Linked DNA regions of Homo sapiens: all the other regions are linked to region 1. The links are contacts of gene promoters, found by promoter capture Hi-C in blood cells and fetal thymus (Javierre and others, 2016). All regions are on one chromosome and are shown on one strand. The core of a region is centred on a gene start or on the middle of the fragment in contact, and the rest is flanking DNA. Distances in the headings are between cores, read along the strand shown. Region 1 holds the start of PKDCC (protein kinase domain containing, cytoplasmic). Region 2 overlaps KCNG3 (potassium voltage-gated channel modifier subfamily G member 3). Region 3 has its middle 9.8 kb from the start of COX7A2L. Region 4 has its middle 17 kb from the start of COX7A2L.

Region 1 (3,305 bases), core at 258-2,757:
GAAGGCCCACCTCAGTGGGATCATAGGCTGGAGATCAGGGACTCAGCTCTCTCCTCGGTCCTTCCATGTCCAAAGGAACAGGGCAGAAATTCCTGTCCCTTTCTCATCACAGACACTGCATTCTGTAGGAACGCCAGACCTCTTCAGGGAAAATCTCCCCTCCCTGGATACCCCCCCACCCACCCCCACCCCCAGAAAAAAGGCTGTGGACCCTTCTCCTCCCTGACCCCTCCCCAGCCAATCCCTGACACTGTGAGGAGGACAGAGATTAACCTGGCCCAGAGGGAGGCAGGAAGCTGCCCAGGAAGGTGAGAGGATCTAGGTGGGCAGTTTCAGAGTGGCGGGGAAGAGGAGAGCTGCGAGGGGGAGGGGCAGCGGCTTATCTCTCCCAGGAGGGGGGAGCTCACTCCAAACAGCTAGTGCACTGGCGTGTGAAAGCCCCTCAATTAGCACTAATGATGCAATCAGGGAGGGAGGAGGAGGGACCGAAGTTCTGGTGGCGTCAGCACCAACTTACACACAAGGTACACATTCCCTTCATCGGACACAATGGCCCCTTCAGACACGCCGAGGCACACACTCCACAGACAGCCGTCCGTGGGCACAAACGCACTCTTTGCCCAAGCTACTAGCATGCACATGGTTTCTTATACGCGGCTGACCCCGTCAGACCCCAGGCATCTTGAGGGGTAGGGAGCGACCCCCAGCTGCATTTGGGGCTTTAGAGGCAAGGAAAATCAGAAACACTTTGGTAAAAGGAGTTGAACAGGGCATCCTCGGCGAGCTCACGAGCATTCCTCTATGCCTAGAGCTCCTGTCCCACGCGCGCTCGCAGGTGCTGGCCCGGCTGTGCCCGCTTCCCCCTCACCATCGCCCCAATCCGGAATCCGGGGCTGAGCGAGGAGCCGCCACCCCCGGCCCCACCCGCGAGAGACGGGGTCCACGCGCCTTCCCTGCGCCCAAACCGCCCCGAGGCCCCCAGTCCCAGGAGGGAGCGCTGAGATCACTCGGATCTCCGCACCCCGGACTTAGCTGCTCGTCCCCTCCGGAGCCCGCTACCCGCCGGCCTCGCCCCTTTATCTTTCCCCCACTCCGCCCGGCCGGCTCCGTTATCCACCTCCCAATCCCGTTATCCGGCCGCCCCGGCCCCGTTATCCGCCCTCGCGTTGGGCGCGGAGCCCCCGCGCGCCTCCTGGCCGCCGCCGCCCCCTCCCCCGCTCCCAGACGGAGCTCGGGGGACCGCGGGCTGGGCGGGACCGCGGGCTGGGCAGGACCGGAGCCGCCTCCGCGCCGCTTCCCAGGCCCGGACGGCCGCGGGAGGAGGTCCCGCTGTCAGTCAGCGGGGAAGGCCGGGCCGGGCGGCCGGAGGGGGCGGCGCCGAGGACGGGCTCGGGCCGGGAGCTGGGAGGTGGAGGCGGAGGGGCGGGGGAGGGGGCGGGGGAGGGGGCGGGGGCGGGGGCGGGGGGCGGCTCTGGGCCTTATAAGCGGCGGGGGCAGGGCGGCAGGGAGGCAAGTGTCAGGCCGATGTGTCGCCCGCGAGGGGCCGGGGTCGGGGCCGCCGGGGCCATGCGCGCGGGCTGGGCAGGGGGCCGGCGGGGCGCAGAGCGGAGCCGCCTCGGAGCCTGAGCCGCCCGGGGCCGGGGCCGGGGAGCCGCGCGGGGCCGGCCGGCCGGGGGGAGGGGAGCGATGCGGCGCCGGCGGGCGGCAGTGGCCGCGGGTTTCTGCGCCTCCTTCCTGCTGGGCTCCGTCCTCAACGTGCTCTTCGCTCCGGGCTCGGAGCCTCCGAGGCCAGGCCAGTCCCCTGAGCCTTCGCCGGCCCCGGGTCCGGGCCGTCGCGGGGGCCGCGGGGAGCTGGCCCGGCAGATCCGGGCGCGCTACGAGGAGGTGCAGCGCTATTCCCGCGGGGGCCCCGGGCCCGGGGCGGGCCGGCCGGAGCGGCGGCGCCTGATGGACCTGGCTCCGGGCGGGCCCGGCCTGCCGCGCCCCCGGCCCCCTTGGGCCCGGCCCCTGTCCGACGGCGCCCCAGGCTGGCCCCCGGCTCCCGGCCCAGGCTCCCCCGGCCCGGGCCCGCGCCTGGGCTGCGCCGCGCTTCGCAACGTGTCCGGCGCGCAGTACATGGGCTCAGGCTACACCAAGGCCGTGTACCGGGTCCGCCTGCCCGGCGGTGCCGCGGTGGCGCTCAAGGCGGTGGACTTTAGCGGCCACGATCTGGGCAGCTGCGTGCGCGAGTTCGGGGTACGGAGGGGCTGCTATCGGCTGGCGGCCCACAAGCTGCTTAAGGAGATGGTGCTGCTGGAGCGGCTGCGGCACCCCAACGTGCTGCAGGTACGAGGGTGGGGACGCGGGGGTAACGGTGTTGGCTGGGAGTGCCCAAGACCTTGTCAACCTGGCTGGAAGAGAACCCCTTGATCTGGAGTGCCAGTGACTGCACCCAGGCTAAGCTAGACGCAGAAACCGGACCATGGCCCTTCCCACTGCACCACCCTGCTTCTCACTCCTGGGTGGGCGTCCCTTTACCGGAGAACTCCTGGGTTTCTCGGCTTCCACACATCTCTTAAAGACAGGCCAGGACAGAGGCTCCCAAAACTCAGGGGGTGGGGCAGTCCATTAGGATTTAGGACTCTACTCCGGGCTGGAGTTAGGAGGTTGAACACCAGGGATATTACCCCAAGCCAAAATGACCCTAAGCCAAGACACTTGAGTCAGAATTCCAACTGTGTGATAAAGTCCCCCTTCTTGATGGAACTTCTCCCAACTTCCAGTGATTTGTCTGGTTTTGAAAATGAGACGGGACAGCAGTGGGGCTGGGAAGAGCTGGAAAGAGACCATGTGTCAGGCTTGATTCCTATAGAGTCTCCCCACCCACCCACCTCCAGCGCCACCCAGAAGACACTGGAAGGGGGCTGGGGAGCAGGCTAGAAAAAGGGAACACAGTCCTTCCCAGAAGTGAACTAAGGGTTCCCCAGGCCTTAAAGTGGGTCCTTGAGCCCCTGGAGAAGCCTGAAGGTCTCAGCTCAGTGGACAGACTGGCGGCCTGAGGATCTAAATGTCACACTGTCTGAGTGTATATAGATAGCCAAGAGGCTGGAAGGTTGAGAAGGCCAAATGCTCAGGTTCCTACTCAACGGGACTCTGCCTCGCCTGTTCACTGGAGACACAGGCGAGAGCTGAAACCCCCACCTTGTCCCCTCCAAGCTAGACTTTGAGTGGGCCTCTCACAGTCCCAGCACCGCCCTAACACTCCACGTCCTCTCTCTCAGGTCTCCCCCCATCCTAAGATTAGACAGACTATTCCCTTTGCACAT
Region 2 (3,305 bases), core at 581-3,080, 390 kb after region 1:
ACAGAGCTAGGAGCTTTCAATGTTTTATTTTTCATTTCTATGGAAAAGAGGTGAAGTGGACAGAAGGGATGTCTGAAATTCTATCCTGAGGCTTTAATATTTCAAATATTGTTTTGCATCTTTTTGTCTGTTTTCTTTAAAAAAAAAAAAAAAAAAGGAAAATAAACTGCTATTAGCAAATACCAAGCCAACAGGGAAAATTCTCCCAACACCAACATCCAAATTAACCCCATCTCCACCTCTTCCAGATCACAGGACATCTGGACAAAGGTTTAAAAAGACAAATAATTTTGACTTATTGACAGCCATTGTGGAAATAACTTTTCAGAAAGTATGAACTTACAAATGGGTACTTATAGGTAATGACCAAACCCAAGAACAAATGCAACTGTTTCAATTAGCAACAAGGACAATACAGTAATGAAAGCCTTGAATTGTTAGTTTGTTCACTTTCAAATATATTCCCTAATTTTGTGTTTGTAATCCTAAAACTCCCATTTTAGAGAATACAAAACAAGTTACATATTAGATCAAGTCATGTAAATTCAGGTGTGGTAAAATCAGATTAAAGATTAGGAGATTAGGGCTTTTTTCCTCTTTGGGTATTTTAATTTAGGATAATGTCTGACTTACTGGTACCAATACAGATATTAATGAAAACATTTCTGCCATGAAAAGACTGAGTTATAAGAGATGTCTGTAAGTATAGCTAAGAAAGAAGTGATACTTAATGGTTTTTTAAAAAAGCAGCAACAGGCCAGGCACAGTGTCTCATGCCCATAATCCCAGAGCTTTGAGAGGCTGAGGTGGGAGGACTGCTTGAGGCCAGGAGTTTGAGGCAAGCCTGGGCAACACAGTGAGACCCCTATCTCTACAAAAAAATAAAAATTAAAAAATTAACCAGCATGGTGATGCACACCTATAGTCCTAGCAACTTGGGAGGCTGGGGTGGGAGGACTGCTTGAGCCCAGGAGTTCAAAACTGCAGTGAGCTATGATCACACCACTGCACTCCAGCCTAGGCAACCAAGCAAAACTCTATCTCTAGAAAAAAATAAATAGATAAATAATGATAAAAGTAGCAACGCTCAGGGAACGTTACAATAAAATGCTGTTCCTAAAAAAACACAACATCCATGAAGACAAAACCCTAATACATATTTTTTCATTTATGAATGAACTACTCTATCACGTCTCATCGTCTCCTTATAAATGGGTAGCTTAACTGCCACTAGTATTTACCCAACATGCTTCTTTATGAAAATCGGTCCTATGGAAAGTCTGGAATCACCAACAAGAGATTTCACACTTGTTACCTAAGGGTAGCATGAAGTCTGTGTGTATATTTGCACATGTACATTATATATATATATACACACACACATATCCCTATATATAAAATATATACACATATATATACCTATATGTATGTATAAAATATATATATATAGGTGTGTGTGTATATATATACCTATAGGTATATGCTTCTCCTCGTCTCTTCACACAGAAGTTTCTCCCCTCAAATCAGTCAACTGTTTGTGCCCAAGTCTGTAACAGACACTGTCGGGGATACAAAGGTGTATGCATGAGAGAGGATCCCAGCTCTCAAGACAGTTATAATTTACTTGGGAAGATAGGACATATTCACATAAAGCGGTCCCAGTACCAGTAAAATTGATGGTTATCATATTTTTATTAGTAATATGGAGGTGCTATCATCTGCACATTGTTTGCATGAACCACAAAGCTTTAATCCAAATAGTTAAGAAAAAATAAATCCATGCCATTTATTTCAATTATATTAGAATACAATAAATATACAATAAATAACTGAATTTCTTTTGGGTATGTAAGAAGTAGCATACTAGCAGTAATAGGGAAAATAGGGCAAGATATTTAATGGCCAAACTATTACATAAGCTTAGGAAAGGAAATTAAGGGAAAGAAAACAGTTTTGCTATTATTACCTCAGCATGACAATGACAAAGAAGTGTGATTTTTCCAGGCTTTTCTCAGAACCCAGAGATGTGTGAAGATTAACCTGCTGGGCTAGGTTTCTGGAGATCCAGGTGTTAGCCCTGACTCCTTCACAATTATATTCTCTCCTGCCCTGATTTTCTACCTGTAATAGTTGAGGTTTGAACTAGATGATGGCTAAAATTCCTTTAATGAACACTTCTGGTAACCCTTTATTTGATAAATATATCCAGGTCCTCCATCACCCACCACTTCCCAATCCCTGTCTTCTCTACCTCTGACAAAATTACTGTGTACAACATTCAATTTTTTATGAATCTGTCACTAATTATTTGTGTTTATATATACACTAACTTCTTTATGGTAACTGGTTGAAAAAGCAAAATTCTAATTTCTGTTGCTAAAATTTAGTTACTAAACAATCATCACTTTTACATTATCTAGTCCTAATAATCTAGCCAGATTAACATGGCATATTAGTCAGTATTCTTACAAGAAGAGTTTTGGTGTAGCTGTGATTCACAATAGTTAAAGATCAGATCAAATCATTATGTATCCATCGCTTTTACTGGCTTAAAATTGACTTAGCTACACAGCAACTAAGAGTACAGTAATATTTAATTTCTCCCTTTTATGATAATCCAGTGACAACACGTAAGTATGACTTTGCTACTAAAAGGCTATATAAATATCCTTTCATCTGATAAGTCTTATTAAACCTCTAGTGTTTGGGGGAGGAGGTTAAGAGAAGAAGAGGTTGTAATATTGAGTCATCTCAAATTATTCCTATTATAATTTTTATGTTGGAAGTATTCTTGTTTGGACATCTAAATATTAGGACAGTTATCACCTAGGAACAGCAATGAATTCAAATATTATCCAGTAAGATGCTAAACAACACAAGCTCTCGTCAATTCTTAAATACCTTTTGAGTCATTACAGTAAAGAGATAAATCCAAAATGGAAAAGGGAGAACATACTCAAGCTTCCATGAAGCGGCACGATAAGGTGAATAATTGGCACAAAAATAAAGCAAAGAATTGAGAAGTATGCTGGAAAAGTCTTTCAAATACTATTCTTGCTTGTATCTAGCTCCATTATACAGTTTAAATTTTGGCCAAATTTTTAAAGTATTTGTTAAACAGTTCCCGCATGTGACATATGTTTCCAGGATACTTCTGACATTGATATGAGAAATTATAAAACATTTAGAAATGAAAATGTTACTCTCAAACAAAAAACACTATAAGTTCCAAGCTTCTTCTGAATTCATAAGATGGAAAAACATTTGGAAAATAGTACCTTTCTGTTTTAAAATGTTCAAATAAT
Region 3 (3,305 bases), core at 458-2,957, 320 kb after region 1:
ATTCTTCCACAAACAGTGGAGTATTATTGCTTTTCAGTAGGCTAATGAGACTGCCTGTACACAGTGTTTTTCAGGCTTTACCCCCAACACGAAAAGGCACCAAGGAAACTTCCCCAGCAAGGACAGGGCTGGTCCTAGAGAAGACCTAGGAGACTCAGTGGGTGCCATGGGCCTTCAAATCATGCTTTCCCCAGGAGGGTCTTACAAGTCTCCACAAGAGGCACTTTGCCTTTTGTTCTGAAAGCCTGCCCAGCCAGCACTTAGTGTCCAGGACAAGGTCTTAACCACAGCAATCCAAACCAGGTTACCAGGCCTACTTTCTTCAGGCTCTGGGACTGCCAGGGGCTGTCCATCTCCAGCTAAGCACACTCTAGGAGCTGATCAAATTAGAGAGCTGGGGGAGGGGTGGTATAGACTCTTCTAAGAGAGCTGTAATGCTGTCAATCAACTAGCACTTAATTTCCGGTGGGTTGTAAAAGTGCCATGTATCCTGCAAGCTTCAGGGTGAGTAGCCCGGTAGGATTCTAAGTTAAATGATGCGAGAAGAATAACTCTTGGTGAGGATTTTGCACCTCAGAATTAAAAACAAAGCAAAAAAGACCAAACCTATATTGATTGCAAATATTGTGGGAAGGAATTTCTTTCCAATCTATTTCCATTAAATTCCCTTGATGACATCACATGTCACCTGAGTTGACAGCCACTGGAGGCCTGCAACTGTTCAGCACCCATCATGGGCACAAATGGAACTTTGCTACCATGCCCTTATGGGGCTGGGCCTCTGCAGGCTGCTCAGTTTTGACACTGTCGTGCCCGTAAGGGGATGGTCCCCAGGGAAAATGGATAGAGTCAGCTGAAAAGGTAATGGGGTGGATGGAACTGGGGCAGTTAGGAGGGGACAGCAGCAGTGGCCCTGGAACAGTGAGGCAGTTGGTGGAAGGAGGCCGGAGGCTGGTCTGCTGCCATCAGACATTTATACCATCTCCTGGCCTTGCAGAACTCTGATTCAGAAAATCATGGGGTGGCCGGGTACGGTGGCTCACGCCTGTAATCCCAGCACTTTGGGAGGCTGAGGCGGGTGGATCATGAGGTCAGGAGATAGAAACCATCCTGGCTAACACGGTGAAACCCCGTCTCTACTAAAAGTACAAAAAATTAGCTGGGTGTGGTGGCGGGCACCTGTAGTCCCAGCTACTCAGCAGGCTGAGGCAGGAGAATCATTTGAACCCAGGAGGCAGAGGTTGAAGTGAGCCGAGATCGCGCCACTGCGCTCCAGTCTGGGCAACAGAGCGAGACGCCATCTCAAAAAAAAAGAAAAAGAAAAAAAAGAAAATCATGGGGAACTTTTCATTTCTAAGAAAGGCCATGAAATAAAGAAACAACATCATGTAACCCTGTAGAAGGAGCATTGGTGTTAAATTCCTTACAGGATGCAAAAATGCTGTTCAATAAGTTTTACCAAAAATGCACAGTTAAATTCAACAATAAAAGTAGATGAGCAGTGCTGTCCAATAGAATGTTCTCTGATGATGGTCATGTTCTGTGCCTGTGCTGGCCGGTATGGTGGCCACCATCCACATGTGGCTACTGAGCCTTTGGAATGTGTCTAGTGCAACTGAAGAACTGAATTTTTAATTTAATTTTAACATAGCCACATACAGCTAGTGGCTATATTGGATAACACAGGTGTAAGGAGATTAAGGTGTGAAGGAGAAAGCCAGTGTAAGAGCAGCCTTCCTATTTGTCCAAGTCCCGAAAGAAGGAGATCCAGGCTGGGTGCAGTGACTCACGCCTGTAATCCCAGCACTTTGGGAGGCTGAGGCAGGAGGATTTCTTGAGCCCAGGAGTTTAAGACCAGCCTGGGCAACATAGCGAGACCGCGTCTCTGCAAAAACCTTAAAAAATTAGTCAAGTGTGGTGGCACGTACCTGTAGTCTCAGCTACTTGGGAGGCTGAAGTGAGAGGATTACTTGAGCCTGGGAGGCAGAAGTTGCAGTGAGCCAAGATTACACCACTGCACTCCAGCCTGGGGAACACAAGACCCTGTCTCAAAAAAAAAAAAAAATAAAATAAGGCCAAAAACAAAAAAAAAGAAGAAGAAGGAACTCCACCTTATTTGCTAATGAGTTCAGACTACAGGAGTAAAATAATTTCAATTTGTTTTGAAAAGTGCTTTATTTCCTGTCTAAATGTTGAACCATAATAGCTTCTCTTTTTTATAATTTCAGTGGGGAAAATACCATTATATGCTTCTGGAGATTAGAAGTACCATCCTCAGCATGTGCCCACCATTAATAGCTTCATCTTTTAGCCACATAGGGTTTTTGCCTCTGTAGGCTTCTAACATATTACGGTTTTTATAGCCAGAGGCATAGGCAAGTTCTTCTATTGCTAATGACAGGTCCGTTTCTCACCCTAATTTAGGCAACCACTCTATCCAACAGTTCACTGCATTTCAACATTTCTGATTTGTGACGTGGCGACTTATTCCTCTGAGAAATGTTTCGCATGCTGCTGCTTGTTCAGCAACCAGTTCATATTCGCAGATCTGAGCGCCATCCCTGGGCCTGGGTGAATCCCCTGAAGATAAAGTGGCCTCTGTCCTGAGACGGTGGGCACCAGGGAAGGAGCAGTACACAAGTCTTTCTGGCTGCCCACTCACAGCCCAATCTCCCAGCAAGCCCCGCGGAGCAGGCCCTGAAGCCCTGGTCTCACCCCTTGCAAGGGGCAAAGGTCAAGCCAAGGGGTCACAGGTAAGGGGAAGCAAAGTGTTTTTAAGCAGGGCACAGGTGGGCAGCAGCAGACCAAGCTCTGGGAAGAAGGGGAGGAAGAGGGAGATGAGACTTTTCAGGTTAAGAACAAACAAGGGAAAGATTCAGTAAGCAGGCAGCTGGGAGCCACATGTCTGGGCCAAACAACAAGCTTTTAAAAATCCATAAAGGGCAAGCACTGCATAACAGCGCTCTCTGATGTCAGAGTTCTGCCCTGGCCTTGTGAAAAGCACCAAGGACTCACCCTGCAGCAGCCAGTCCCTAAATAGTGGGGTGGGGGCTGGTATATCCCAGGCAGCTGGAGGGTGCACAGAGCAGATGCACCAGACCAGGCTCTGCAGGCCTGGACAGGCAGCTCAGCCAGGCCTGCTTCATTGATATAGGCTCCTAATGAGCAGGATAAACACCATTTGGGGCCATTTGCTGTGAAATGGGCTGGGGTGTATGAGAAATTAGCCTTGTATGGGCATAAAACACACATATCAGCAGAAAATAATGTGCTGGAAAAGTTTAAATTGAAGACATGCCATTCTG
Region 4 (3,305 bases), core at 452-2,951, 300 kb after region 1:
AACCCTGAAGGGGGCCCTGGACCAGCAGAGCCTGCCTCTTCCACCCTAGCCTAGCTGCCCTTCCCTGCTCTCTCCCTCTCCCTAGGAGAGCTGAGACGAGGGACTTGAGCTCTCTGCTTGGCAAGATGCCCTCAGAAACCACCCCAATTTCTGCACCCACTTATTCCTTGGCCCTTCAGGCAGGCACCAGGTACGGCCCACACAGACTCAGCCTCTCCTTCCCTGCCTTGGAAAACCCAGGTCCCTAACTCCATCTGCTTTACTTTACAGCCCTTCCAAGGCTTCTTCCTAAAACCTTCTCTGCCAAAGGGGAGGCAACGCCACCATTTCTCACAGCCTGGGGCAGCTTGGAATGTGATATTTGGAGTCAGCAAAGATTCCAATCTGGCTAATACACATTAGGCAGTGTAGAGACCTGTGCTTTGGCCCTGAGGCACAGCCATGTGACCATGACTAATCTATGTCATAGACGAGGTCAGAACAAGAGAAGGCAGGATGTCCCAGGAGGGCTGTGTCAGAACTCAAGGAAAAAAATATGACCTAAAGAATGCTCTTCCTGGCCATTCAGCGCCCCCCGTTTCGGGTTTTGCAGCAGACTTCCCCTGGGAAGTCAGCTCCAGCAGTCTTGGGACCCTGGGCAAGCAGCATCTGGGCCCCCCACCTGCCCATCCCAACACATCCTGCAGCAGTGCCGCACCCGGGCACCGTGGAGCCACAGAGGTCAGGAGGCCTGATTCCAGCTTATGCAAGTGACAGTGGCTGATGGCAGAGGAGACTGCAAGTGATCGTCCCACTCCCCTCCTACCTCAGGAGGTGCTGAGCCACCCTCACTGCTCTCGTTCACGTCATGAGAGCAAGAGTCAGCTGCTGCCGCCCTCCAGGCTACCAGGCCTGACCTGCTACCACCAAGGCATGACATGGGTTCCCAGAACAGCAGCCACAGCCAGATTTCCCTCCACCACACCCACCCGGGCAGCCTCCTCTAAAGTCACCAAACCCCGCCAGTCACAGAGAGCTCCCAGATCAGAACAGGTGAAGGATAACTGCAGAATTCCTCAATAACAAGGCCGTTTGCTAGCCATGTGGTCTATCAACCCTAAGAGGTGGAGAGACACCCTGAAAATGACCCTAAGCATGGTTCATCTCTGAGGCTCCAGCACCTAATAGTGTGTGCTTCTGCGCACTAATTAAATGTCTAGAATAACAGAGAATTAATGCAACTCCTTGAAGACTGTGGGTTAGGGAGTCCCTGAGGAGCCAAAGATACCGGCCAATGATCCCGACAAGAGGAGCTCTAGGGACAGGGCCCCATTTCTCAGCCAACCCGACATGGGCAGTCTGTGGTACTAAATAGTGACCCAGCCTAGGAGGTGTGGAGGCAAAACGTCAAATATATGTATTAAATCACTGGGACCAGGCAGTATCAGAATTTCTCAGCAACCAATTTTTATAGCCCCAGGTATAACCTCTAGCTATTGAAGATGAATGGGACAGAAAGTGAGAGGTTTACCAAGCTTTTGACCATGAGGAAAATCAGAAGGAAGACGTGGGGATGAACAGACCTCAATGTCAGACAAGCCAGGGGAGCCTGCCCAAAGCCACACACATGAAGAGAAGAAAAAAGCAGATAAATAAACGAAAGCTGGCCAGTGTTATCAAAGCCACACCAACCTTCACCTTACCCAACAGCTTCACAGCAAAGTCACACTGGATGAAGGGGCCGAGAAGGAGAGCGAAAGCTAGTCAGACCCTGAAAGGGAATCTGGCTGACAGAAAGAGCAAAGCCAGGGATAAGTGGGCACTGCTTTACAAGGACAAGTGTAAAGTAGCCATTTTCAACCTTTCTTACCCTTGTGTACCCTAAAAAAAAATTTACATCTATGCATATCTAAGCTTAATACGTAAAATTCTTCATTTTAAATTTAAATAGTTGCAAAAAGTATAGTTTCTATTGTTATAAATATTAGCTAAATTATTAAATCAGTTCTAAATGTATCCAACGGAATGTAACCTCCACTGCAGTTGGACACCCACCTTCATCTGGTTAAAAATACACATCTATACAACAGTCAGAAACCTCTGCTTACACGTGTTTTTCCATTCCACTCCCATACCTACAACTCTGTCCCAAAACATTTACCCTACTACAACTTTAGGAATGAAAGTCTCCTTTTGCTCATACATAATTCTCTGTAACACTCTAAAATTGAAATTTGTTTAAATTTCCTGTGACCATAAACTCTAAGTGTTAGAAATACTTTTGTTCTAGATTGAATTATTACAATTACTATTAGTACATATTTGACCAAAACAAAGTATGAGAAAATCTGTCTTAGAATGCGTCGCAGGCCCGGCGCGGTGGCTCACGCCTGTAGTCCCAGCAGTTTGGGAGGCTGAGGTGGGCAGATCCCGAGGTCAGGAGATGGAGACCATCCTGGCTAAGGCAATGAAACCCCATCTCTACTAAAAATACGAAAAATTAGCCCACGTTGTGGCAAGCGCCTGTAGTCCTAGCTACTCAGGAGCCTGAGGCAGGAGAATGGCGTGAACCCAGGAGGCGGAGCTTGCAGTGAGCTGAGATTGCGCCACTGTACTCCAGCCTGGGTGACAAAGCAAGACTCCGCCTCAAAAAAAAAAAAAGGCATCGCAATTAGAGGGAGGGAGCTGGTTCCGGTTTCCATGGATAAATCTTGCTTACTGTTAAAATAAGGTAATTTCAGCATCAATTCCATTCCCATTTTTATTTTTACAGATATAAGCACTGAAAAACCTTGTTTTCATAAACAGAAGGGAATGAAGTTTCGTGATAGCAAAATCACAATTCTTTGAACTCCTGAGTTATAAGTCATGTGTGATCTATTATCAAAATTATTTTTAGGCCAGGTATGGTGGCTCACACCTGTAATCCCAGCACTTTGGGAGGCTGAGGCGGGCAGATCACCTGAGGTCAGGAGTTCGAGACCAGCCTGACCAACATGGAGAAACCCTGTCTCTACTAAAAATACAAAAATTAGCCAGGTCTGGTGGCACACACCTGTAATCCCAGCTACTCAGGAGGCTGAGGCAGGATAATCACTTGAACCCGGGAGGCGGAGGTTGCAGTGAGCCGAGAATGTACCATTGCACTCCAGCCTGGGTGACAAAAGCAAAGCTCTGTCTCAAAACAAAAACAAAAACAAAATTATTTTTAATGATCAAGTGACAACTTAGCTGGCTCCTCCTTCAATTTTGTTAAAAACCTCTAAATTGCAAAAAAAAAAACTGTCAGTCATTAGAGACACACACTTCCTCAATGTTACCAATAT

Evidence for each region. Contacts are between HindIII fragments. The CHiCAGO score rates a contact against its expected background, and 5 or more counts as called.
Region 2: a fragment that was not itself captured here is called in contact with the fragment with the promoter of PKDCC in region 1 in 1 of 17 cell types (non-activated CD4 T cells); the score reaches 5.9 in non-activated CD4 T cells.
Region 3: a fragment that was not itself captured here is called in contact with the fragment with the promoter of PKDCC in region 1 in 1 of 17 cell types (naive CD8 T cells); the score reaches 5.4 in naive CD8 T cells.
Region 4: a contact is called between a fragment that was not itself captured here and the fragment with the promoter of PKDCC in region 1, in 1 of 17 cell types (total CD8 T cells). The highest score is 6.3, in total CD8 T cells.

Annotation. Positions count from the first base shown.
Region 1 is chr2:42,046,514-42,049,818 of GRCh38, forward strand. It overlaps PKDCC (protein kinase domain containing, cytoplasmic), which reads left to right and starts at 1,508. Exons shown (of 7, transcript NM_138370.3): 1 at 1,508-2,325. The coding sequence starts at 1,687. RefSeq lists enhancers at 1-388, 389-893, 517-636, 2,137-2,396, 3,110-3,305 and silencers at 807-1,096, 1,207-1,456, 1,607-1,786, 1,797-1,896, 2,027-2,096. The HindIII fragment of the contact is 13,255 bases long and covers 1-3,305 here.
Region 2 is chr2:42,440,344-42,443,648 of GRCh38, forward strand. KCNG3 (potassium voltage-gated channel modifier subfamily G member 3) reads right to left here. Exons shown (of 2, transcript NM_133329.6): 2 at 1,674-3,305. It overlaps LOC124900542 (small nucleolar RNA SNORD75), which reads left to right and starts at 34; the gene lies at 34-93. The HindIII fragment of the contact is 173 bases long and covers 1,745-1,917 here.
Region 3 is chr2:42,369,319-42,372,623 of GRCh38, forward strand. No RefSeq gene overlaps it. Among named protein-coding and RNA genes, the nearest start is that of COX7A2L, 9.8 kb to the left of the region's middle. RefSeq lists an enhancer at 613-1,114. The HindIII fragment of the contact is 2,425 bases long and covers 496-2,920 here.
Region 4 is chr2:42,342,224-42,345,528 of GRCh38, forward strand. It overlaps a transcript of COX7A2L not described here. Among named protein-coding and RNA genes, the nearest start is that of COX7A2L, 17 kb to the right of the region's middle. The HindIII fragment of the contact is 379 bases long and covers 1,513-1,891 here.